Regions from separate parts of the Homo sapiens genome. Here regions 1, 3 and 4 are each linked to region 2. The links are contacts of gene promoters, found by promoter capture Hi-C in human tissues and cell types (Jung and others, 2019). All regions are on one chromosome and are shown on one strand. Each heading gives the region's core, a stretch centred on a gene start or on the middle of the fragment in contact. The rest is flanking DNA. Distances are from core to core; before and after follow the strand shown.

Region 1 (6,033 bases), core at 565-3,064, 150 kb after region 2:
TCAGCTATTCGGGAGGCTGAGGCAGGAGAATTGCTTGAACCCAGGAGGCAGAGCTTGCAGTGAGCCAAGATCACGCCACTGCACTCCAGCCTGGGCGACAGAGCGAGACTCCGTCCCTACCAAAAACAAACAAACAAAAACAAGAAATTAACCAGGCATGGTGTTGCTTGCCTATAGTCCCAGCTACTATGAGGCTGAGATGGGAGGATCACTTGAGCCCAGGAGGTCAAGGCTGCAATGAGCCATGATCATGCCACTGCACTCCAGCCTGGGTAACAGAACAAGAACCTGCCTCAAAAAAGAAAAGAAAAAAGAAAAACACGGGCCAGGCATGGAGGCTCACGCCTGTAATCCCAGTACTTTGGGAGGCCGAGGCAAGCAGATCACCTGAGGTCAGGAGTTCAAGACCAGCCTGACCAACAAGAAGAAACCCCGTCTCTACTAAAAATACAAAAATTAGCCCAGCGTGGTGGCACATGCCTGTAATCTCAGCTACTAGGGAGGCTGAGGCAGGAGAATTGCTTGAACCCGGGAGGTGGAGGTTGCGGTGAGATGAGATGGTGCCATTGCACTCAGCCTGGGCAACAAGAGTGAAACTGTCTCCAAAAAAAAAAAAAAAAAAGAAAAGAAAAGAAAAACACAAGTACTGGAACTCAGTTGTGAACACTCCTTATTCACCGCTATAGGAGGATAGGACACCCTGGATATATTTTCTTGAGACAAGGTCTTGCTGTGCTGCCCAGGCTGGAGTACAGTGTTGCCAGGACAACCTGGATTTATTTTCTTGAGACAAGGTCTTGCTCTGTTGCCCAGGCTGGAGTACAGTGGTATGACCATGACACACTGCAGTCTTTTTTTTTTTTTTTTTGAGATGAAGTCTCGCTCTTGTCCCCCAGGCTGGAGTGCAATGGCACGATCTCGGCTCAGTGCAAGCTCCACCTCCTGGGTTCAAGTGATTCTCCTGCCTCAGCCTCCTGAGTAGCTGGGATTACAGGCGCCTGCCACCATGCCCGGCTCATTTTTGTATTTTTAGTAGAGATGGGGTTTCGCCATGTGGCTAGGCTGGTCTCGAACTCCTGACCTCAGGTGATCCACCCACCTTGGCCTCCCAAAGGGCTGGGATTACAGGTGTGAACCACTGTGTCCGGCTGACACACTGCCATCTTCACTTCCTGAGCTCAAGCAATCCTCCAGCCTCAGCCTCTCCTGGCTGGGATTACAGGTGTAAGCCACAGAGCCTGGCTAATTTTTTTTTTATTTTTTGTAAAGACGGGGTCTTGCTATGTTGCCCAGGCTGCTCTTGAAGTCCTCGGCTCAAGGGATCCTCCCACCTGGACTCCCAAGATGCTCGGAATACAGGCATGGGCCACTGTGTCTGGCCTTGAATGTTTTACATGATGACAGATGGCATGAGACTTCCTGGGCTGATTAAATGTAGTGACCAGTCAGCCATAGTAAGTGTTGGCATGGGTTTGTTGTCATGAGTTCAATAAAATTCACCCTGATTTTTCTGTCTTTTAAATGAGATCAGGTTTTTATTTTTAATTTCTTTTTTTGAGATGGAGTCTTGCTCCGTTGCCAGGCTGGAGTGCGGTGGCACTATCTTGGCTCACTGCAACCTCTGCCTCTCTGATTCAAGCGATCCTCCTGCCTCAGCCTTCTTAGTAGCTGGGATTACAGGCACACGCCACCATGCCTGGCTAATTTTTGTATGTTTAGTAGAGACGGGGTTTCACCATGTTGATCAGGCTGGTCTTGAACTCCTGACCTCATGATCCACCCGCCTTGGCCTCCCAAAGGGCTGGGATTACAGGTGTGAGCCACCATGCCTGGCCTTTTTTTTGGGATGGAGTCTCCCTCTGTTGCCTAGGCTGGAGTGCAATGGCTTCATCTCGGCTCACTGCAACCTCCGCCTCCCAGGTTCAAGCAATTCTCTGCCTCAGCCTTCTCAGTAGCTGGGATTACAGGCGCCTGCCACCATGTTCAGATGATTTTTTTTTAATTTTTAATAGAGACGTGGTTTCACCATCTTGGCCAGGCTGGTCTTGAACTCCTGACCTTGTGATCACCCCCCGCCTTGGCCTCACAAAGTGCTGGGATTACAGGTGCAAGCCACTGTGCCTGGCTGAGATCAAGTTTTTAATTCACGATGTACCCACAGTAGAATGGAAAAGTGAAGACGACAGAAGGCATCGGTGATGTGTCAAAATCTGGAAGAATTAAATTGATTATCCAGATTAAACACCAGCAGAAACTTTTTTTCTTTTTTTGAGACGGAGTCTCACTCTGTCACCTAGGTTGGAGTGCAGTGGTGCGATCTCGTCTCGCTGCAAGCTTCGCCTCGATCTCGGCTCACTGCAAGCTCCGCCTCCCGGATTCACACCATTCTCCTATCTCAGCCTCCCAAATGGCTGGGATTACGGGTGCCTGCCACCATGCCCGGCTAATTTTTTGTATTTGTAGTAGAGACCGGGTTTCACTGTGTTGGCCAGGATGGTCTTGATCTCCTGACCTCGTGATCTGCTCGCCCCGGCCTCCCAAAGTGTTTGTATTACAGGCGTGAGCCACTGCACCTGGCTGAACCTTTCAAAATTATCTGTTACTGCCTCTTGAAGCCAATTAGAGACCAGTAACTAATGAAAGAATGAAGCTTTATCCCTGAAACTTTGAACTTATAATATCTTGAATTTCTATAGCACTTTAAAATTTTTCACGGAACTCTTTTAATCCCGTCAATAAATTTCAATTGAATAAATAAACTAATGAAATTATGTTATTTTTATTACTATTTTTATTTTTTTTTTTGAGACTAAGTCTCCCTCTGTCGCCCAGGCTGGAGTGCAGTGGCACGATTACAGGCATGAGCCACCACACCGCACCAGGCCTATTATTATTATTATGCTTATTGAGAACAGTTTCAATCTGTGGCCTAGGCTGGAGTGCACTGGCAGGATCTTGGCTCACTGCAACCTCCACCTCCCAGGTTCAAGCAATTCTCCTGCCTCAGCCTCCCAAATAGCTGGGATTACAGGCATGCGCCACCATGCCCGGCTAATTTTTTTGTATTATTTTGTATTTTGTATTATTAGTAGAGACAGACTTTGGCCATGTTGGCTAGGCTGTTCTCGAACTCCTGACCTTAAGTGATCCACCCACCTCAGCCTCCCAAAGGGCTGGGATTATAGGCGTGAGCCACTTATTATCGACATCTAATATAGGTTAAACTGACACTGAGAAGGAGTTAGATTGGACCATGTTGACACTTAAGTGTAGAAAGTGCCTGGAGCCGGGACACCTCACTTCTACATACTAAACCAGTACTTTGTATTGAACTACCCTTCCTTCCTCCCTCCCTCCCTTCCTTCCTTCTTTTCCTTTCTTTCTCTCTCTCTCTTTCTTTTAGATAATCTCCCTAACATGGTATTCCTCTTTTTGGTGAATAAAATTCTGCAGCAGAAAATCTCAGGCTGTATCTAAATTTTAAAATACAATATCTACTGTAAACTGCAGGTATTGATCCAATCTGTGCTTTTGTAAAATAAGGGTTGCTTCATTATACAGAAAAACTTTGAACTCAGAAATTCCAGGACTGCTCCATTTGCTTTATTTGCATAACCTTCAAGGGCAGAGAGTCAGGGCAACTCTGTGAACCCCAAGTGATCAGTCAGGTGATGGCAATACTTAGCCTGCAAATCTACTAAAACAAGTCAGAAAGTTTCCATTTAGGCTGTACACAAGAAGAAATATTTAACTAAAGTTTCAATAGCTCTTTTTCCCCAACAAACCAATTTGTTAGTTTAGATTTTAGGTTTAGAGTCCTCTGGGCCGGGCACAGTGGCTCATGCCTGTAATCGTAACACTTTGGGAGGCCAACGTGGGTGGATTGCCTGAGCTCAAGTTCGAGACCAGCCTGGGCAACATAGTGAAACTCTGTCTCTACTAAAATACAAAAAAATTAGCTGGGTGGTGTGGCATACACCTGTAGTCCCAGCTACTTGGGAGGCTGAGGCAGAAGAATTGCTTGAACCCAGGAGGCGGGGGTTGCAGTGAGCCGAGATTGTGCCACTGCACTCCAGCCTTGGCGACAGAGCGAGACACTGTCTCAAAAAAAAAAAAAAAAAAAAAAAAAAAAAAAGAGTCCTTTGGCGCCTCCTTCAAAGCTTAGTCACTTACAATTTGCCCATTGTACCCATTTTCCTATGTATACTGTTCCTATATGTACCTTGAATACTTTTCTTGTTTAATGACATGGCTTTCTTTTTTTTTTTCAGACTCCGTCTTGCTCTTATTGCCCAGACTGGAGTGCGATGACACGATCTTGGCTCACTGCAACCTCCACTTCCCGGATTGAAGCGATTCTCCTGCCTCAGCCTCCCCAGTAGCTGGGATTACAGGCATGTGTCACCACACCCGGCTAATTTTTTGTATTTTTAGTAGAAATGGGGTTTCACCATTTTGGCCAGGCTGGTCTCGACCTCCTGATCTCAAGTACCTGCCTCAGCCTCCCAAAGGACATTGCTCTCTTATCTTCTAGAGTAGAACTTTTCCAATGGTGTCTCTCATCTGCATTTTCAGATGACAAATGATAACTTCTCATTCCATTCTGTAACCAGAAGTTAGTAAAGTTTATTTATAAGCTTTATAAAGTTAAAAATTTCCTAGCAACACTTAGTACAGACTTTTTTTTTTATTTGTATAGAGTTTCCATGATAAAGTGTAGTTGGGTATCTGGCATTGGTACTTAGGGCATAATAATTAATGAAAAAATTTTGAGCCCCTATGATTATAGTGACCAATCATATTTTCGGAACTCTAAATAAGATTAGCCTATCAAGCGCTAGGGTTGTGTTTTCATGTTTGTTTATTTGTCTGAGACAGAGTCTTGCTCTGCCACCCAGGCTGGAGTGCAGTAGCATGATCTCGGCTCACTGCAACCTCTGCCTCCCAGGTTCAAGCGCTTCTCCTGCTTCAGCCTCCTGAGTAGCTCCGCGACCAGCCGTGTTTTCATGTTTGTATTAGCAGCTCCAAATATACACATATTAGGACTCCACAGATGCTTACTAAGTGAAGAACACTTAGTTTGAGGATAGTAAAGGATACAGTTTTTTCTTTTTGAGACAGTCTCACTCTGTCACCCAGGTTGGAGTGCAGTGACGCGATCTCTGCTCACTGCAACTTTCGCTTCACGGGTTCCAGAGATTCTCCTGCTTCAGCCTCCCGAGTAGCTGGGATTACAGGAGCGCACCACCACACCTGGCTAATTTTTGTATTTTTCGTAGAGACGGAGTTTTACCATGTTAGCCAGGCTGGTCTCAAACTCCTGACCTGATGATCCACCTACCTTGGCCTCCCAAAGTGCTGGGATTACAGGCATGAGCCACTGCGCCTAGCCAGAAATAGTTTTGAAACTAAAAAAATGAGAAAAGGGGAATTAACTGTGCTATAGGCTCGCTTTGAACGTCATGTTACAATGCGCCACTATCTTTCTTAGGATGTAATTATTGCATCTAGTATCTCAGGTTAAACTTATCTTTCATAAGACACTCCTGATACCAATAGCCTTTGAAAATCTAGTCATGGCCGGGTGTGGTGGCTCATGCCTGTAATCCCAGCACTTTGGGAGGCCGAGGCGGGCGGACAGCGAGGTCAGGAGTTCGAGACCAGCCTGGCCAACACGGCGAAACCCCGTCTCTACTAAAAATAGCTGGGCGTGGTGGCGGGTGCCTGTAATCCCAGCTACTCGGGAGGCTGAGGCAGGAGAATCGCTTGAACCCGGGAGGCGGAGGTTGCAGTGAGCCGACATCGTGCCATTGCACTCCAGCCTGGGCGACAAGAGCAAGACTCCATCTCAAAAAAAAAAAAAAAAAAATTAAAAAAAAAAGAAAAGCTAGTCTTTCAGTACAGGGATCTGGAGATTTTAATTTGCGAGCTGTTTAACTGCTAAAATAAAAAAAAAATGGCGGTTTCCGCAGGGGAGCCGAAAGCTACCGGCCGGCAGGTTTAATATCCAGCGGCGCGAGGCCTGAGACAGCT
Region 2 (5,968 bases), core at 687-3,186:
TGGTAGGCTTATTTTTAGAGACCACTGAGGCAGATTGTGGGCTTATAAGTGGAGTACTGGTCTGTGGGTCAAGTGCCTGAATTCTAGGCCCAGTTCTGTGTTTCCCCTGTGTGTTCCTAGGCAGGTCAGTTTCCCTCCATGGGCCTCTGTAAGATGAGGAGTTGGAGAGGTACATTCTCAGGCTACTTTCAACTCCCAGCCAAGTGACTCAAGAGTCCCAGGCAGCACCAGCACCCCTATCTCCAAGGCCTCCTGATGTGTGTCTCTATTTAGAACTTAATCCAACCTACCCAACATCAGATCAGTGTCTTACCAGCCCAAGGTCCCTGGGGAGCCTCCTAGAGGGAGAGAGCCCTGCCCACCCAGATTGAGGGTAAAGGCCTCCCCGTGCTCATTTTTGTACCACCACAGTGCTTGGCACATGGTAGACATCAAAATGTGTGTGCTGAAAGTATAATTGAAGTTGTGTATATATGTCAGCTAGAGTGTCTGGAGGGGCAGAAATGTGGGTCTAAAACATACAAATGCTCCAAATGGGGTGTGGGCAAGGGTCTGTCTACACCAGGCTGTGATTACCTGCTCACATACATGTGTCTATCTGAGTAGGGGTATGTTATCTATTTTTCTACACCACAGGGTGAGGAACAGGTATATGTGTGCATGTGTATGCATCCGTGTGTGTGTGTATGTGTGTGTGCATGAGTGTGTGTGTGTGTGTCCAAAGCCACCTCTTCAACCTGTGCCATTTGTATCTGTGTCTGGCCCAATGAGAGTGTTGAAAGGTGAGCCACAAGATAAAACAGCAACTTCCTACCTCCCTTATCAAGACAGCTGTCTGACCTACCTCCCCTTGGCCACTCTTGGGATTACTGGGGTTGGCTTCAGTATTTTCAGATTTTTCAGAAGGGGAGGAGAATGCTTGAGTCTCATCCAGGAACTTAGGCAGTTCTCAGCACTGCCTGCTCCTCCTCCCTCAAATAACCAAGTCTGAAGACCAGGAGAGAAAGCCGCTGGTGGACTGGTCACCTGTCTGGCAGTGGGAGGAGGAGAGTGAGAGGTTTCTAGGTTAGGAATCCAGACTTAGACCCTCCCCTCCACCCCCAGATGGGTGGTGCACAGGCTCATCTCGCGGCCCCTCCCCACTCCACCCTAACATGGATACGCCCCCAACAACCAAGGAAAGATCTCCCATCGGCTGACTCCACAGATACACACATGTCCCCACAGACACACACACGCCCATGCAGAGGCACAGACATCCAGGCACATCTTTCCCTTTCTCTGTCTTTCCCTTGGTTTGAATTTCGTTTAGCCACATATGTTGTGTGTGCGTGAGGGTGGGTGGGGGAGGGGCAGACAGGGATGAGGGATGGCATGGTGCCAACATCTACCTATGGGGCTCGGGCCAGGGACGCCCCTTACAGCCATCCTGGGAGGGGGTCTCAGCTGTCCCTTTGTGGCCAAGGGGACCCTCCTGGGGAGTGGGGGCAAGCACAGAGGTCCTTTCTCCCCAACCCGGGGTCTGGTCCCTGACCCACCTTGGGGGCCTGCAGGGGAGGAAATGGACAGAGCGGGACCCTGAGGGAGCATAGAATTGGCCACCACGAGCCCCCAGTGTCCAGCCTTGCCACCCCATTGTTCCCGTGAGGGGGTCTCTATATACAGGGGGCAACTCCTCCCACCTTCCTCTCAATCCCTGCTTTCCCTGCGTTGGGCGGGGAGGGGAGGGCGGCAGAAATATTTATTTATTTCCTTTATTTATTTAATTTTTTTTTTTTTTTTTGGAGTAGAGAGTGACAGATGGCGGCGGGTCCCGGGGGAGCCGGCTCTCCCCCAGTGCAGACGCATGCCAATCACCGTCTCTCATGTGATAGCTGCTGCCCGTGACGTGCCAAGCCCATATGGCCTGGCATAGAGGCTGGTACCCCGCCTGGTAGAGATGCCACACTCGCTCCGCGGTTCGCATGGCGCTCTGAAGACGCCGGCGCCCGCCGCCTTGAGGAGCCGCTGCCCCCGCTCCCTGAAGATGGGGGAACAATGAAATAAGCGAGAAGATCCCTCTTCTCCCCCCTCTCTCTCTTGCCCCCTCCCCCCCTCCCCTCCCCTCTCCCCTTGACTCCTCTCCGAGGTAAGTTGTCCGAAAGGGAGCGAGATCTGACCCGCCGGTTGGGAGGAGGGGCGGCAGCTTCGGCCGACAGGAGGGTCCTCAAATACCTCCTTCCTGGGATGATGCCCCCCTCATTGGGTGGGCATCGGAGGGGCCCCAGGTTCTCTCTCCCTTAGGGGCTGCAGCCCAGGGGGCTGCAGAGGAGGTGTCTCTGCCTGCGATGGGCTCGGTGGGGGGGGAAGGCAGGATCACGGAGGGGGATATGCGAAGAGGCCGAGACGGAGGACCCCTCCATGGTTGTCCCAAAAAGCCTGCCACCTTTCCCCACCACCGAAAAAAGGGAAGCAAACAAACAAATTTGGATTTTTCCCCCATCAATCCCAAAATACAACGAGATCTGAAGAGCCTTGTGGGAGGGAGTCAGCTTGAAGGGGGAAGGGGGTCCCTGACCGCAGAGGGGACGGACTGGGCTCGCTTCTCTCAGTCTCCTCCCCACGCCCCGCTGCTTCAGTCCTCGCCGCCCAGAGCCGGCTCCGGGAGCTGGGGACGCATCGGCTAGAGGAGACGATCCTCCCGCCTCTGGAATTGGGGGTGCGGGGGTGGGGGCCGAGCAAGGGGCGGCGCGCAGCCAAGTTGCAAATTGGATTAGGGAGCGTGGGGGTGAGAGCCACGGGAGGGGTGAGGGAGCTGGGCCGGGGGGCCCGGGCCGCGAGAGCGCGGAGCGGGGCAGCTGTCCCCACCGGCGGCCGACCAGCCTCTCTCCACCGCCAGGAGAGAACGGGCTTTCAGGGCGAGCGCGCCGCCTCCCCTGGCAAAGATATCTGGTCCCTAAAACCCCCACCCGGTCCCTGCCCTGACCCTGAGAAGAAGCAGGCGCGGGGAGCAGCCCCCCATTCAAGCGAGGGGCGGAGCCGGGGCCCAGCGCCGGGGAGAGGGCCTGGGCCGAGATCCCAGGCCGGCAGCCGGGTAGGGCTGGGCCGGCTCTGGGCGGGGCAGGCGGCGGAGGTGGGCATCCAGGGTAGCCTAGGCAGGAGCCCGCACGAGACTCGGGGGTGGAGGAGGGTTGTGGGGGGGCGTCGGTACCCCAGCGCGCCCCTCACTTTGTGCTGTCTGTCTCCCCTTCCCGCCCGCGGGGCGCCCTCAGGCACCATGCTGACCCGCCTGTTCAGCGAGCCCGGCCTTCTCTCGGACGTGCCCAAGTTCGCCAGCTGGGGCGACGGCGAAGACGACGAGCCGAGGAGCGACAAGGGCGACGCGCCGCCACCGCCACCGCCTGCGCCCGGGCCAGGGGCTCCGGGGCCAGCCCGGGCGGCCAAGCCAGTCCCTCTCCGTGGAGAAGAGGGGACGGAGGCCACGTTGGCCGAGGTCAAGGAGGAAGGCGAGCTGGGGGGAGAGGAGGAGGAGGAAGAGGAGGAGGAAGAAGGACTGGACGAGGCGGAGGGCGAGCGGCCCAAGAAGCGCGGGCCCAAGAAGCGCAAGATGACCAAGGCGCGCTTGGAGCGCTCCAAGCTTCGGCGGCAGAAGGCGAACGCGCGGGAGCGCAACCGCATGCACGACCTGAACGCAGCCCTGGACAACCTGCGCAAGGTGGTGCCCTGCTACTCCAAGACGCAGAAGCTGTCCAAGATCGAGACGCTGCGCCTAGCCAAGAACTATATCTGGGCGCTCTCGGAGATCCTGCGCTCCGGCAAGCGGCCAGACCTAGTGTCCTACGTGCAGACTCTGTGCAAGGGTCTGTCGCAGCCCACCACCAATCTGGTGGCCGGCTGTCTGCAGCTCAACTCTCGCAACTTCCTCACGGAGCAAGGCGCCGACGGTGCCGGCCGCTTCCACGGCTCGGGCGGCCCGTTCGCCATGCACCCCTACCCGTACCCGTGCTCGCGCCTGGCGGGCGCACAGTGCCAGGCGGCCGGCGGCCTGGGCGGCGGCGCGGCGCACGCCCTGCGGACCCACGGCTACTGCGCCGCCTACGAGACGCTGTATGCGGCGGCAGGCGGTGGCGGCGCGAGCCCGGACTACAACAGCTCCGAGTACGAGGGCCCGCTCAGCCCCCCGCTCTGTCTCAATGGCAACTTCTCACTCAAGCAGGACTCCTCGCCCGACCACGAGAAAAGCTACCACTACTCTATGCACTACTCGGCGCTGCCCGGTTCGCGGCCCACGGGCCACGGGCTAGTCTTCGGCTCGTCGGCTGTGCGCGGGGGCGTCCACTCGGAGAATCTCTTGTCTTACGATATGCACCTTCACCACGACCGGGGCCCCATGTACGAGGAGCTCAATGCGTTTTTTCATAACTGAGACTTCGCGCCGGCTCCCTTCTTTTTCTTTTGCCTTTGCCCGCCCCCCTGTCCCCAGCCCCCAGAGCGCAGGGACACCCCCATCCTACCCCGGCGCCGGGCGCGGGGAGCGGGCCACCGGTCCTGCCGCTCTCCTGGGGCAGCGCAGTCCTGTTACCTGTGGGTGGCCTGTCCCAGGGGCCTCGCTTCCCCCAGGGGACTCGCCTTCTCTCTCCCCAAGGGGTTCCCTCCTCCTCTCTCCCAAGGAGTGCTTCTCCAGGGACCTCTCTCCGGGGGCTCCCTGGAGGCACCCCTCCCCCATTCCCAATATCTTCGCTGAGGTTTCCTCCTCCCCCTCCTCCCTGCAGGCCCAAGGCGTTGGTAAGGGGGCAGCTGAGCAATGGAACGCGTTTCCCCCTCTCATTATTATTTTAAAAACAGACACCCAGCTGCCGAGGCAAAAAGGAGCCAGGCGCTCCCTCTTTCTTGAAGAGGGTAGAAGTTAGGGCGCCGGAGCCCGGGCCTGGAACGCCCTCACCCCCAACCTCCAGTCTCCGCGTTTTGCGATTTTAATTTTGGCGGGAGGGGAAGTGGATTGAGAGGAAAGAGAGAGGCCAAGACAATTTGTAACTAGAATCCGTTTTTCCCTTTTCCTTTTTTTAAACAAACAAACATACAAAAAAAAAAAAAAAAAAAAAAAAAAAAAAAAAAAAAAAAGCTAAGAGGCGACGGAAGCCGAACGCAGAGTCCGGATCGGAGAGAAAACGCAGTAAGGACTTTTAGAAGCAATAAAAGGCAAAAAAAACAAAAAACAAAAAAACAAACAAAAAAAAACCACTACTACCAATAATCAAAGACACAAATATCTATGCAAGGAGGCTCCACTGAGCCTCGCGGCCCGGCCCGGCCCCGGGATGCCCCGCCCGGCCTGCGGGCCGCCCCGCCCGAGCGCGGATCTGTGCACTTTGGTGAAGTGGGGGCCCGCGCCGCCCCCTCCCCCTCCCCAGGTTCTTACAATCAGTGACTCGGAGATTTGGGGCCCCAGTGCCACTGCCCTCCCCCGCCCCGTCCCCGTTGTGCGTCATGCTGTTTTTTAAAAACCTGTTTCCAAATTTGTATGGAATGGCAAACTGTTGGGGGGTCGGTTTGGGGAGGGAGGGTTTGCATGAAAGACACACGCACACCACACCGCACGCACAAGCAGGCCCGGCGCCGGCGTCCGGGGGGCAGAAGGAGGTGAGCTCGCCGGCTCCTCCTCCCCGCGGCCATTCTGTCCCCTCCTGGGGTGAGGGGTGGGGATGGAGACCTGGGGGCAGCCCCACCCCTGCCCGGACTGTGCCTCGGTGGGTGCCACCTGGCGATTTCCGGTGTCTGGAGAGAGTATTTTTTGGTCCAAGGAGTCCTCTTGGCTTTAGCTGGTGGGTGGGCGGGGAGAGGTCTGAGGGCTCCTACTGGAGGTTCCCCCAAAAAGGGGCAAAAGGAGACCCTCTGCCCACCGGAGGCAGGGGATCAGGCATCCAAATACACGATGCAAAAATGCAATCCCACAGGCGACACACCCACACACTCACCCACACACACGCAA
Region 3 (6,251 bases), core at 142-2,641, 240 kb before region 2:
CAGTTATAAAACTAGGCATTTTACAGTTATAAAACAAGTCTTCATTTCAATATGTTAGATTCAATCATTTTACCAGAAACATCTTTTTAAAGTAGCAATGACATGAAATGCCCATTTTTCCTTTTCTCTCTGCATGTTCATTTGGTAGCATGTGATATACAAGGTAAAATTGGAATGTATGTTTTTGTCTACAACTTAAGGGTAACTGACCTTTGAAGGAAAATAACACTAGACACTGACTTTGTTGTTTTAACAACAGTTGTCAGCAGTTCACCTGTGCCCCACGGTCTACAGTTTCCTCATTAAACACTTAATCTAGGAGAAAAAATGGAATGCTTTATTTTTTTTTAAAGGGGGAGGGTAGGAAGAACTGGAACAGTAACTTGGTTGTATTTGATCTGGTGTTTTTAAGCAAGCAGTCTTGATGTTTCTTAACATTTACCTTAGCCCAAGGAAATAGGGAAGGAAGTATTTCATGATTGGAGGGATTACTCTCACTTTAATGCATGTCTTTGTTTTTGTTATCTTCCTTTCCCCTCAATCAGCAATAATGCACAGTCAGTTAGGGTGTTTGAAATTAATTGGATCTAAAATTTCTTCTAGTTCTGGCCTTCTAAAATCTGTAATCTGTATAGGAAGGCATTTAAAACACGATTTAAATTCTCTGAAGCAACAGTAAAACTCAAGAGACAAATCCTGCTTCTCTTCTTAATGTGTCACTGACTTTGTGCCCTTGGGCGATTACTGGCCTTTATGTTTTTTGTCATTATTTGTATCTTGGATTTTGTCTGTAAAATGGGGAAAATAATAAATGCCATTGCCCCTATTTATCTTCCAGAATTGTTATGAGAAAAAAAGAAATCTCATTGCACTATTAGGCTGAGTGCTTGATGCCACGTTTTTGGAGAGCCACAGGCAAACAAAAACGGGTTCAGAAGACAGCTCTCACCATGGTCAGGAAACTGGGTGGTAACATCTGAGCTATAACTTATCCTGTATGTTCCCAGAAAGCTGAACTAGGACCTGAAATAGACATTTCAGTAAATTTGAGTTCAGCTACATTTAAGAAAGAATGCTTTTAACTACTAGAGTTTTTCTGAAATGGAAAGGAATAACTTCTGTATTATTCGAAGTGTTCAAGCAGAGGCTGTATAACCCAAGTAGGGGGATATTAGAGGACATTCAAACATCAGATGGCAGAGGAAGGAGAGGTAAGCTAGTTATGATAATAATTTCGATTCTAATATGCTAATTTCATCGGTTATAGGGATCATTTTTCATCCTACAGAACTGTTCTTGTACTGATGGAATTTGAGGAATGATTATATATGATGGTGATACGGAGAACTGGTAAAGGATTTTGCAGAAATGACAGCGAACGCTTCTCTGCCACATTTACAGTCCCAGGTGTTAATGTTGCAATTCTGAAAACATTCTTATAATCAGTGCCTCAATTTCTAAAACTTTTAATTATAAAGTAAAAGTGAACATTTTAGATAAGATAAACTTTTTCTTTTTAAAAAAGAGGTATGGGTATAAAGGACTCCATTTACTATTATAAAGAAGGAATGGAATATCAACATTCAGAGATAGCTTTCTGGCAGCTGCCAGGCACCTCTGGTGCCTGACAGCTGGCAAACTCAATACAGGATTCTTTCTGAGATTTGACATTTTGCTTTCCTTTAGTGCTTATACTTCCTACTGGGAAAACAGACCATGGAGTAGAAATATGATCTCTGAAATTAAGAGGAAAATTTTGTTAGCTAATATTCTTAATTCAATGGTAATTATTTAATAGTACAGTATTAGAAATAAAGGCAAGTTTATAACCATTAGAATTAAAAACATGATTGTACATTTTTGTTGCTAATGTAAATATTTGATTTTCTTCATAGCTAATTTATACTTGAACTAATAGGTAAAGCATTCATATGTGAACTTCCATGAAATCTCAATTAACTAGACTCCTGCCATTTCCAAGTTTAAATTTTATTTATAATCTGCCCCCTTTCGTTTTACAGCACATGAAATGTTAGAAACTCTGAAAAAAAAAAAAAAAAAAACCTTGGTATCTTAAAAAAACTAACCGGTGAGAAAATTTATATAGTGTCATCGTCAATGAAAAGAGAATCTAAAAAGCCAAAAACGAATTTGAAATTATCATCTCTTAGTAAGCATGTGATGAAGTCTTGTTTTCTATACTGGTAGAAAACAATTTGAGATTGCTAGAATGGCTATGAGTAGCTATGAATGGGAGAGTGCTGTGGAACACTGCAAAAGAAATAAGCTTTAACTTTTACAGTCTAATATATATGTCAGTATCTCAGTAGTAGACTAGTTGTGTCCTTTAGAAGATGTGTTATTTAAGAGATAAGGTGTTAATGGAAAACACTTATGTTTTAATTAAACCTTAAAACATATCAGGAGATTGGTTATTTAGTTGTGGAAAGAGCAAAAAGACAAATGAAATAGGTATTAACTAGAGTTTTCTGCTAGATTACAACTCTGGCTTTTAAATGAAATAAGAAAATGGTTTTATCTAATGATACCCAAAAATCCTGATGAAAACATGATGCTAAGTATATATTTGTATACATACATGTATGTTCATTTAAAAATATTTTATCTGGATATTTGGATATCCTGTGGTCGATATTTTTACCCTCTGAAAAGTCGCATTAATTTTTCAATCAGTGACATTTGTAAAGTGCTTTGTATGAAAGGTGCTGTCTAAATGTTTTATTTCTTTGATTACTGCGTCAGTGAAAACCGCAACTTTCTCTTGAAATTCCAATTGCAGGGTTTTGAAAGTAAACATAGAAGTATTAGTAATAGACCTAGAACAGGGCTCCATAAGCTTTTTCTGTAAAGGACCAGATAGTGAATGTTTTAGGCTTTGCAGGTCATATGGTCTCTGTCACAACTACTTAGTTGGCTGATGGAGTACAAAAGCAGCCATAGACAATATACAAATGAATGGGTTTAGCTGTGTTCCAATAAAACCTTTTTTTTTTTTTTTCTTTTTTGGAGACAGAGCCTTGGCCTGTTGCCCAGGCTGGAGTGCAACGGGGCAATCTCAGCTCATTGAAACCTCTGCCTCCCAGGTTCAAGTGATTCTCCTGCCTCCCCCTCCTGAGTAGCTGGATTATAGGCACCTGCTACCAAGCCTGGCTAATTTTTTTTTGTATTTTTTTATAAAGACGGGGTTTTGCCATGTTGACCAGGCTGGTCTCGACCTCCTGACTAAGTGATCCACCTGCCTCAGCCTTCCGAAGTGCTGGGATTACAGGCATGAGCCACCGTGCCTGGCCTCCAATAAAACTTTATTGATGAACACTGCAATTTGAATTTTGTAAAATGTTCAAGTGTATTCTTCTGATTTTTAAAAACCATTTAAAGATGTAAAAACCATTCTTAGTTCACAGGCAGTACAATAACAGGCAGTGAGCCATAGTTTGCAAAACCATCTAGTGCGTTCATAGGGATCAACAATAGAGATATAAAACTTCACTTGTTCATTCAACAAGTATTTATTCAGTGTCCATCATGAGCAGACACTAGTGTAGGGGCTGAAGATACAGCAATACAAAACAGACAACATCACTGTTCTCATGGAGCTTACATTCTTGTGGGAAAAGACAGATTTAAAAAAATGAGTGATGGTGATCTGGGAGCCTGAGGCAGGCGGATTACCTGAGGTCAGGAGTTCGAGACCAGCCTGACCAACATGGAGAAACCCCATCTCTACTAAAAATACAAAATTAGTTGAGCATGGTGTCGCATGCCTGTAATCCCAGCTACTTGGGAGGCTAAGGCAGGAGAATCGCTTGAACTGGGCAGGCGGAGGTTGCCGTGAACCGAGATCGCACCATTGCACTCCAGCCTGGGCAACAAGAGCAAAAAAATAAAAAATAAAAAAACAAGACTCTGTCCCCCCCAAAAAAATGAATGATGGTGATAATGAAAAAATTTTATAAAGAAAAATAAAGCAGGTAAGAGGAAAGAAAATGACAATGGAAGATGACATTTTATGTAGGGTAATTAGGTAAACCTTGTTTGAATAGGTGACTTTTAAGCAGATACTTGAATGAAAAGAGAAATTGAGCCAAGTGGCTTCTAAGAGGAAAGCATTATAGTCAGGGGGAAGGGTAAATGCAAAGGCCTTGAGGCAGGAGCATGCTTTCCCTGTTCAAATAACAGGAGAAATGTAGACAATTGATGAGATTTATATTTCAACAAAATTAACCCACTCCAAGATTCTTCCATCATTTGCCCCAGATATGTATAAACATCAGTACAGGAAACTATATTTCTATCAAAAGCAATATAGGGACTCTTCCTACTTAACTTTGTAGAGCATTCTTTTGGAAAATATTTCAAAGCTATGTTGACTGCCTACACATTAAAAAGACCACAGTAGACCCCATCAAATGGAAACTTTTTGTGGATTTGTTAGGGGGGACTGAAGTGTAAAGAAGTTACAAAATGATTAATTAAAAACTAAGATGTTTTTGCTGCATTTAGAAATATTTAACAAGTTTCTGGTCTTCATTTGGGAGTTCCTTCACCATCTGTCCACTCCTGTCTTTGAATGGGCTTCATGTTCTTATAAATACCTTGAAGTTTAGGGGGGAAATACACTTCAATCTATCTTGTTGTTGTGTTTTAATTTAGTAGCTAATAAGAACATTCATGTGACCTGATCACAGATGGTTTTCCTATCTCTTTTTTTTTTTTTTTTTAAAAGACGGAGTCTCACTCTGTCGCCCAGGCTGGAGTGCAGTGGTGCCATCTCGGCTCACTGTAACCTCTGCCCCCCGTGTTCAAGCGATTTTCCTGTTATGAATGCTAAGGTAGTCAGAATCTCATTTTTCTCTTCGAAACTACACTCAGTTACTTCTGGTGCTATTTACAGTACACAAAGGACACTTTAAAAATATTGAGAGCTATTTAAATGTCAGAGGGTTTAAAATATTCAGGGGACCAAGACCTTTTGCCTTTAGTTCACCAAATCAAAAGCCATCTTTCTGTGTAGTGACTAAAAGATGTTCCCACATGAAGGTTGCTCATGTGAAAGCTTTGAGCTAGTTTTCGTTCTTTCTTTTTTTTTTTCCCTCCGTTAAGAATCTTTTCAGCATGCAGTTGAAAGTTTCATAGTTAGCGTTTTTAAAAAACACTATCGAACTTACAGAAAAGTTGCAATACAGCACAAAAAAACTTTTTTTCTGCAAGTTTTTAAAGTAAGTTGCTGACACGGTGCTCTATCCCTGTCCTATGCTTTAGAGTATGTGCCCTGCCTTCACAATAAAATCATCAAAACCAGGAAATCAACATTACTACCATTCAATCCTCAGACCCCATTCAAGTTTCTCCAGTTGCTTCTGTGATGTTCTTTACCACAAGATATTTCGGTTCAGGATCACACATTGCTTTTCGTTGTCATGTCTCTTTCCTCTCCTTCAGTCTGGAACAGTTCTTCAGTCTTTCATGACCTTGAAACTTTTGAGGATTATAAGCCAGCTGCTTTGTAAACTATCCCTGCAAATTCGAGTTTGGTTGTTTCTTTATGGTTTGATTTGTGTTTTGCATATTTGGCAGGAATATCACAGAAGTGATGCTGTGTTCTACTCACTATCAGAAGGCACATAATTTTTGTTTGTCCCATTACTGATGATGACCACATGTAACTTTGCTCAGTTACAGTGATATCGAACAGGCTTTTCCATTATATAGGTGCTCTTTTCTTTCAACCTTGTAATTAATAAGTATTTTTGGAGAGAAGCACTTTGAAACTATATAAATATCCCATCTGTCACCACACTTTTAATTTATTCATTTATTAACATCAGAATGTTAATAATATACTCATGAATTTGTACATGAATAATGTACTCATGAATAATGTACTCAGAATGTACTCATGAATTTCTGTTTTTTTCCCAATGAGTTATAGTCTAATACTATTATTATTTTATGCTCCCTTGTCCCAGATTTGGCCAATGGAAACCCCTTCAGGATGACTGCTCTATACTTTTAAGATATCCACTTCATTCTGTGAGCACTTCCTTGCTTTCTGGCACAGCAAAATGTTCCCGACTTATACTTTCAATTCTCATGCCTTAGCCACCCCAGTAGCTAGTACTACAGGCATGCGCCACCATGCCTGGCTAATTTTTGTATTTCTGGTAGAGATGGGGTTTCGCCATGTTGGCCAGTCTTGTCTCAAACACTTGAGGCTGAGGCGGGCCTCA
Region 4 (6,300 bases), core at 3,092-5,591, 200 kb before region 2:
TATTTCACTATATTCATCAGTCTGGTGGCATTAAAGACATTGACAAGATGTGTTAGAACCAGCCTTTTCTGCACCTGCGTCTACAGAAGCAAAAATCTCAGCCAGGGCCTTTGTTATCCTTTCTTACTCCTTAAGTAATTTCATAGCAGCCCTTGAGAAAATAGGAAAGGCTCTTTGTTAACTTCTGTTAAGTCAGCCTAGGCTGTGGTCATACCTCCCATCCACCGACATTTGAACAAACACTACTTAATGGTCCATTATTACTCTTTTCATTACTTGGAGCCCAGAACTCTCTCTTGCATTTTTATATGACCTATTCCTTACTTACCATCAGCTTGATTTTCCGGTTCTAGTCCTTCAGGTTGTACTAGTTCTCTCTCTCTCTCAGACTGTAAAGAAAAGATAATTCTTTATTTTCTTATTTTGTCTTACGAGAGAACTCACATTCCTGAATGAACCCTCAGTGAACTTCCCCAGGTGCATTTATATCACTGCTGCTTTGCAGTCCAGAGATAGTGCTCATTAACTAATTAATAACCACAGCCTAGTAAAACACACTAAATTATTAACAGAACAGAAAGTGAGACAGTATGGTCCATAAAAGCACAAAATATAACAAAGAAGTAATATATCCTTATGTATCTGGATCCTTATGAATTTTAGCCCAATTTAGAAAGAGCAAAAATCAGTAGTTAGGTATTTGTCTGAAATCGATAATAAAATAACTAAGTATGGGAAATGTCCAATCAGGCCAACTCTTTTATACTTGATTTTTTAACCTTCCTTTCCTACTGTCAAGTAGCGGGTGCCCTTGTGTTTTTCAACAAGCTAATTCTTGTTAATTTTGTTGAAAGGGAATGAAATCAGTTGTACAGGAACAAAAGGAGTTAAAAATAGTCTTCTGAGCATTTGTCATATGGAAGTAATCATAGCTCAGAAACTATACTTACCATGATGCTTCTTGTAATCATTGGTGAATGGGTAGCTAAACATTCCCATTTTGAGACAGAGTCAGTATCAGAGTCAGTATCAGAGCTATCAATTTTATTTTGTTTTGTTTATCTGTATAGATTTCTTTTTAAAACAGCTTTAATGTGGTTATAATTTACATACTTTAAATGTTCAATTCAATGACTTTTCTAGTAAATTTACAGAGCTGTACAACTACCACCATGTTTTAGAACATTTCCATCACCCTAAAAAACCCTTTGTACTTGTTTGTAGTTGATCCCCATTCTTGCCTGCAGCCTCAGGCAACCACTAATTATTTCTGTCTCTAAAGATTTACTGTTTCTGGGTATTTCATATAAATGGAATAATACCATATGTAATATTTTGTTTCTGGCTTCTTTTACTTAGCATAATGTTTTTGAAGTTCATCTATGTTGCTGCATGTATCAGTAGTTTGTTTCTTTTATTTCTTTTTTCTTAAAATTTTTGAGATGGGATCTCACTGTGTTGCCTAGGCTGGTCTCAAACTCCTGGGCTCAAGTGATCCTCCCACCTCAGCCGCCCGAGTAGCTGGAAACATATAGAGGCCCCGTCTCTACAAAAAAAAAAAAAAAAAAAAAAAAATTTAAATAGTCCCAGCTACTCAGGAGACTGAGGTGGGAGGATTGCTTGAGCCTAGGAGGTCGAGGCTGCCTAGTGAGCCATGATCATGCCGCTGCACTCCAGCCTGGGTGACAGTGAGACTCTGTCAAAAAAAAAAAAAAAAAGAATATCATTGTATTTATATAGTACATTTTGATTATCAATTCACTGTTTGGTGGACATTCAATTGTTTGCATTTTTTAGCTTCTATGAACATTTATGTACAAGTCTTTATGTGGACATAGGTTATCACTGCTTTTGAGCAGATACCTAGAATTGTTGGCTTGTATGGTAAATTTATGTTTAATTTTATAAGAAACTACCCCTATATTAGTTATTGATTGCTGTGTGACAAATGACCCCAAACCCTAGCAACTTAAAACATATTATCTCAGGAATACAGGCACAGCATATCTGGGTCCTCTGCTTCAGTCTCTCCCAAGGCTGCTAACAAGATACTGACCTGAACTGTGGTCTCATCTAAAGACTTGACTAGGGAAGGATCAGTTTCCAAGCTCACTCATGTGGTTGTTGTCAGGATTCAGTTCCTGAAGGCTGTTAGACTGAAGGCCTCGTTTCTTCACTGGAGGTTGGCCAGACACTGCCTTCAGCTCCTTGCTCTCCAGCTTACTTCATCTGAGAAGCTTGCAAGAAACACCACAGAGAGAAAGAGAGAGAGAGATGGAAGTCACAGTCTTTTATAACCTAAACACAGAAGAGACACCTTCCATCACTTTTCCATGTTTTTTTCATTAGAAGCAATCACCTAGGTCCAGCCCACACTGGAGGGGAATATTACACAAGGGTGTGAATGCTAGGAGCCGTTTTAGAAGGCTGCCCACCATACTGCCAAACTGTTTTCCAAAATGACTGTATCATTTTACACTCCCACCAGCAACGGATGAGGGTTCCATTTTCTTCACATCCTTGCCAGCGCTCTTTATTGTGTCTTTTTTATAGTAGCCATTCTAGCAGGTGTGAAGTGGAATCTCATTATGGTTTTAATTCACACTTCTCTAATGACTGAGGATGATGAGCATCTTTTCATTGGTCTGTTGTCCATTCATATAATTTCCTGGTGAAATGTTAATTCACATCTTTTGTGCGTTTTAAAAATTTTATTTATTACCTTAGAAAAGCTAAAGACTACTTTCGTGCATTTTAAAATTGGATTATTTGTCTTACTGAGTTGCAGGATATTTTCATTTATGAATCATGTTTTCAGTGCTGTATCTAAGAAATCTTTGCCTGTCTCAAGGTCATGAACATATTATGTGCCAGCTACTATGCTACGCCTATATATACATTATTTTGCTTAATTTCATTACTGTAACAGCCCTATTAGGTATAGATATTATCATTACTGCAACACAAATGAGAAAATTCACGGAAGTCAAATTACTTGCTGAGGTCACACAGCTAGTTAGTACAACTTGAACCTGGGTTCTGTCTTACTCCAAAGCCCATGCTCTTTTATCAGAAACTTAAAAAAAAAGAAGTCATTCAACTCTATTTTCAGTGGAAAAAAATAAGTTAAATACCATATTGTTCCTTCCCTGTAATTACCAATACCCATCCAATATTACTTGAATATTGTTAGTAGAAACCTCTCTGTGATCATTAGAAGCTGCTGTTTGAAATAGAAAGGACATAGATTGCAGTTTGTTGGCCAGATTCTATTCTAGTTTTATTCTGCCAGACAATATTCCCTCTGCAGTTTCCAGTAGAGCTAGGATGCATCTTTGCTTGCAGCCTTGAAGTATGTTACTGGGCAGCTGTTAAGCAGTTGTTACACTTTATCCCCAGGGATGAACATGTTCCAGTGACAAGATAGCTCATTCCCTTGTGTGCTTTTAATGTTGTACATTCACCCAGGAGAAGTCAGTGCTGAGTTTCTTCTATTATTTCTCAGTGCTCTAATTCCATTATTTGAGAACCAGGGAAGAAGGAAGGGAAGAACCAGAGATGGGTAAAAGTCTAAATAATATGTTACAGATGGTAAATGTTAATTTTTATTTTGTATTTTAATGTAATGCTAAAAAGAACAAGAGTCTTCTAATTCTTAATCCTTATACTCATTTCCTTCTCATCCAAGAATCCTTTATACGCTTTGGGTCTGATTGTTATACCTTGAGTTAGAAATAACAATTTATTTTTTCCCTCTGTCTTCGGCTAATATGCTAGCTTTAGGCAAAATTGCAATCTGTACAATTTTTAAAAACACTGTCAACCCTAATTTTGTACTTGAAGCAAATAATAGTATAGTTGTTCACGCTTTCCTTTCCTCCTTCTTATCTTCTTTCCTTCCTTACTTCCTTGTTTGTTTGGTAAGTAGTCACTGAGCTCTGTATCAGTGCTAAATGTTGATAGAAGCAGCATAATATACAGACGTTGACATCAAACAGCCACTATGTAGAGAGGACAACGGGGAATATTATAGGAAAAGCGGAGAAGAAATGGGAGAGATAAGGAGCTTGTTTGCAACTTGTTGAGTGTGAGATAAGTGTTGGAAATTCAGGAAGTGATTGTACATGTCAGGAAGTATATGTCTATGGCTTTCCAGGTCTACCGGAAATAAAAATTTGAGAGTCAACAGCAATAAAAACTTGGATCAGGAGACAGAGTATGTAAAGTGAAAAGGCAAAAGTTTCAAGAAATAGGCCCTAGGAAATAATTCACATCTAGGAGATAGAGAAAGAGGAATAAACAGAGGATATAAGTAAATAAGTGAGGTAGGAGTAGGACCAGCAAAGAATAAGCCAAGGAAAGAGATTTAAAAAGCAGGGACTGGCCAGTGGCATCCTATTGCAAAATGGTGGAGCAGGAAGGGCAGAAGCCAGACCACAATGGGCAAAGAAGTCAACTAGATGACTGGCTATCACTGTGGGCCATGGACCTTATTCTGATGCATTAAGAGAAACTACATACTGCATGACAGCATCAGAATCTTGTAGACAAGTTAGGGGTCTATTGTGATCTACTACTTCTTCTCTGCCTGGCCTAGTTATCATCACTAAATTGGTTCAGGCTGCCCAAGAAGTTCATTCATTCATTCATTCAATTTCTTTTTTTTTTTTTTTTGAGACAGAGTCTCGCTCTCACCCAGGCTGGAGTGCAGTGGAGCTATCTTGGCTCACTGCAACCTCTGCCTCCTGGGTTCAAGCGATTCTCTTGCCTCAGCCTCCTGAGTAGCTGGGATTACAGGCGCGTGCCACTATGCCCAGCTAATGTTTTGTATTTTTAGTAGAGACAGGGATTCACCATGTCAGCCAGGCTGGTCTCGAACTGCTGGCCTCAAATAATCTGCCCGCCTTGGCCTCCCAAAGTGCTGGAGTGTTGGGATTACAGGCATGAGCCACCACACCCGGCCCATTCATTCAATTTCTAAAGTAACGAGGCCCTTGTTAGGTTCTGGGGACACAAATATTATTTAAACCTGGTCCCCACCTTGAAAATACTCCTAGTCTATATGGGAGATAAATACACTAATTGTGATATAACACAAAACATGCTATATACACCAAGAACTACTTATGCTCTGGATATAGAAGACTTTTTCATTCCTTCCTTTACCTGTGACCCTGAGTTTGGTATTGTGACAGTCAGAATGTTTTTTAGCCAATTGTATTTGGATGACAGTTTTTGAATTTTACTAAGAATTGTATTTTAACATGCTTTAAACTTTTTCATTCCTGTTTTTAAAAAAGATAGAGTGGCTGGGCGCGGTGGCTCACGCCTGTAATCCTAGCACTTTGGGAGGCCGAGGTGGGCGGATCATCTGAGGTCCAGAGTTCGAGACCAGCCTGACCAACATGGAGAAACCCTGCCTCTACTAAAAATGCAAAATTAGCAGGGCATGGTGGTACATGCCTGTAATCCCAGCTACTCCGGAGGCTGAGGCAGGAGAATGGCTTGAACCCGGGAGGTGGAGGTTGCTGTGAGCCGAGATCGCGCCATTGCACTCCAGCCTGGGCAACAAGAGCGAAACTCTGTCTCAAAAAAAAAAAAAAAAGATAGAGTGAATATTCTATGCAAGGGAATTTTGAATGAAAAAGGAAGTTTTTTTTCTTTCGGATTTACAAATGAAGTTTCTACCAGGTAACTACTTTAGTCTATGCTTGTTTAGGCAACATCTAAAACTTCAGCCTCTTTAAATGTATTTCATCCATTGTTTTTTGATGGGTAGCAGTTATTTCTCAAAAATATAAATACAAAAGAGTTTAATACATAGATGAAAATAATCAATAGAAAAAGTAATTGTTATAATGGGCAGAAATGAAACAATATACTTGTAGACTCTTTATAGTTTAGAAAGACCTTTCATACATCATGGCCTTCAGTCCTCACAATTCTAGATAAAGAATTATACCTGGCCCCATGACATTTGAAGAGCTTAGCCCAGCTGAGCAGCTGGAACCTTACCTACTGCTGATGTATAGTGTATTTCTGTTGTAAAAGTAGTAAATCTCCTCTTCTTCTAATGGGGAAGCAAAGAATTGCACTGAAATTATTAAGCAAAATTATTTTTATTATTATGCCCATGAATGAGCTATTTGATAGTCAGATAAGGCAAAAATTAATGTTATTAGTAAAATTGAGGGTAGTTCCTTTGCAAATGAAACTTTTTACATGCTAATGCTCTTGTGTTTGAAGTGATGTGATTTACTGATGGCCAGTTTAGATTCTTTTTTTTTTTTTTTTTTGAGA

Evidence for each region. The method cuts DNA at HindIII sites, captures the fragments that hold promoters and counts their contacts. A contact is called where the count stands out against the background at its distance.
Region 1: a fragment that was not itself captured here is called in contact with the fragment with the promoter of NEUROD2 in region 2 in 1 of the 25 tissues and cell types used here (dorsolateral prefrontal cortex).
Region 3: a contact is called between a fragment that was not itself captured here and the fragment with the promoter of NEUROD2 in region 2, in 3 of the 25 tissues and cell types used here (adrenal gland, mesenchymal stem cells and spleen).
Region 4: a fragment that was not itself captured here is called in contact with the fragment with the promoter of NEUROD2 in region 2 in 2 of the 25 tissues and cell types used here (mesenchymal stem cells and ovary).

Annotation. Positions count from the first base shown.
Region 1 is chr17:39,451,393-39,457,425 of GRCh38, reverse strand. No RefSeq gene overlaps it. Among named protein-coding and RNA genes, the nearest start is that of MED1, 3.1 kb to the right of the region's middle. The HindIII fragment of the contact is 5,170 bases long and covers 1-4,399 here.
Region 2 is chr17:39,603,888-39,609,855 of GRCh38, reverse strand. NEUROD2 (neuronal differentiation 2) reads left to right here and starts at 1,936. Exons shown (of 2, transcript NM_006160.4): 1 at 1,936-2,128; 2 at 3,252-5,968. The coding sequence starts at 3,257. The coding sequence ends at 4,405. The HindIII fragment of the contact is 16,482 bases long and covers 1-5,968 here.
Region 3 is chr17:39,842,300-39,848,550 of GRCh38, reverse strand. The region is part of intron 1 of IKZF3 (IKAROS family zinc finger 3); the gene reads left to right. Among named protein-coding and RNA genes, the nearest start is that of IKZF3, 19 kb to the left of the region's middle. The HindIII fragment of the contact is 5,152 bases long and covers 1-3,967 here.
Region 4 is chr17:39,802,820-39,809,119 of GRCh38, reverse strand. The region is part of intron 3 of IKZF3 (IKAROS family zinc finger 3); the gene reads left to right. Among named protein-coding and RNA genes, the nearest start is that of IKZF3, 58 kb to the left of the region's middle. The HindIII fragment of the contact is 6,845 bases long and covers 919-6,300 here.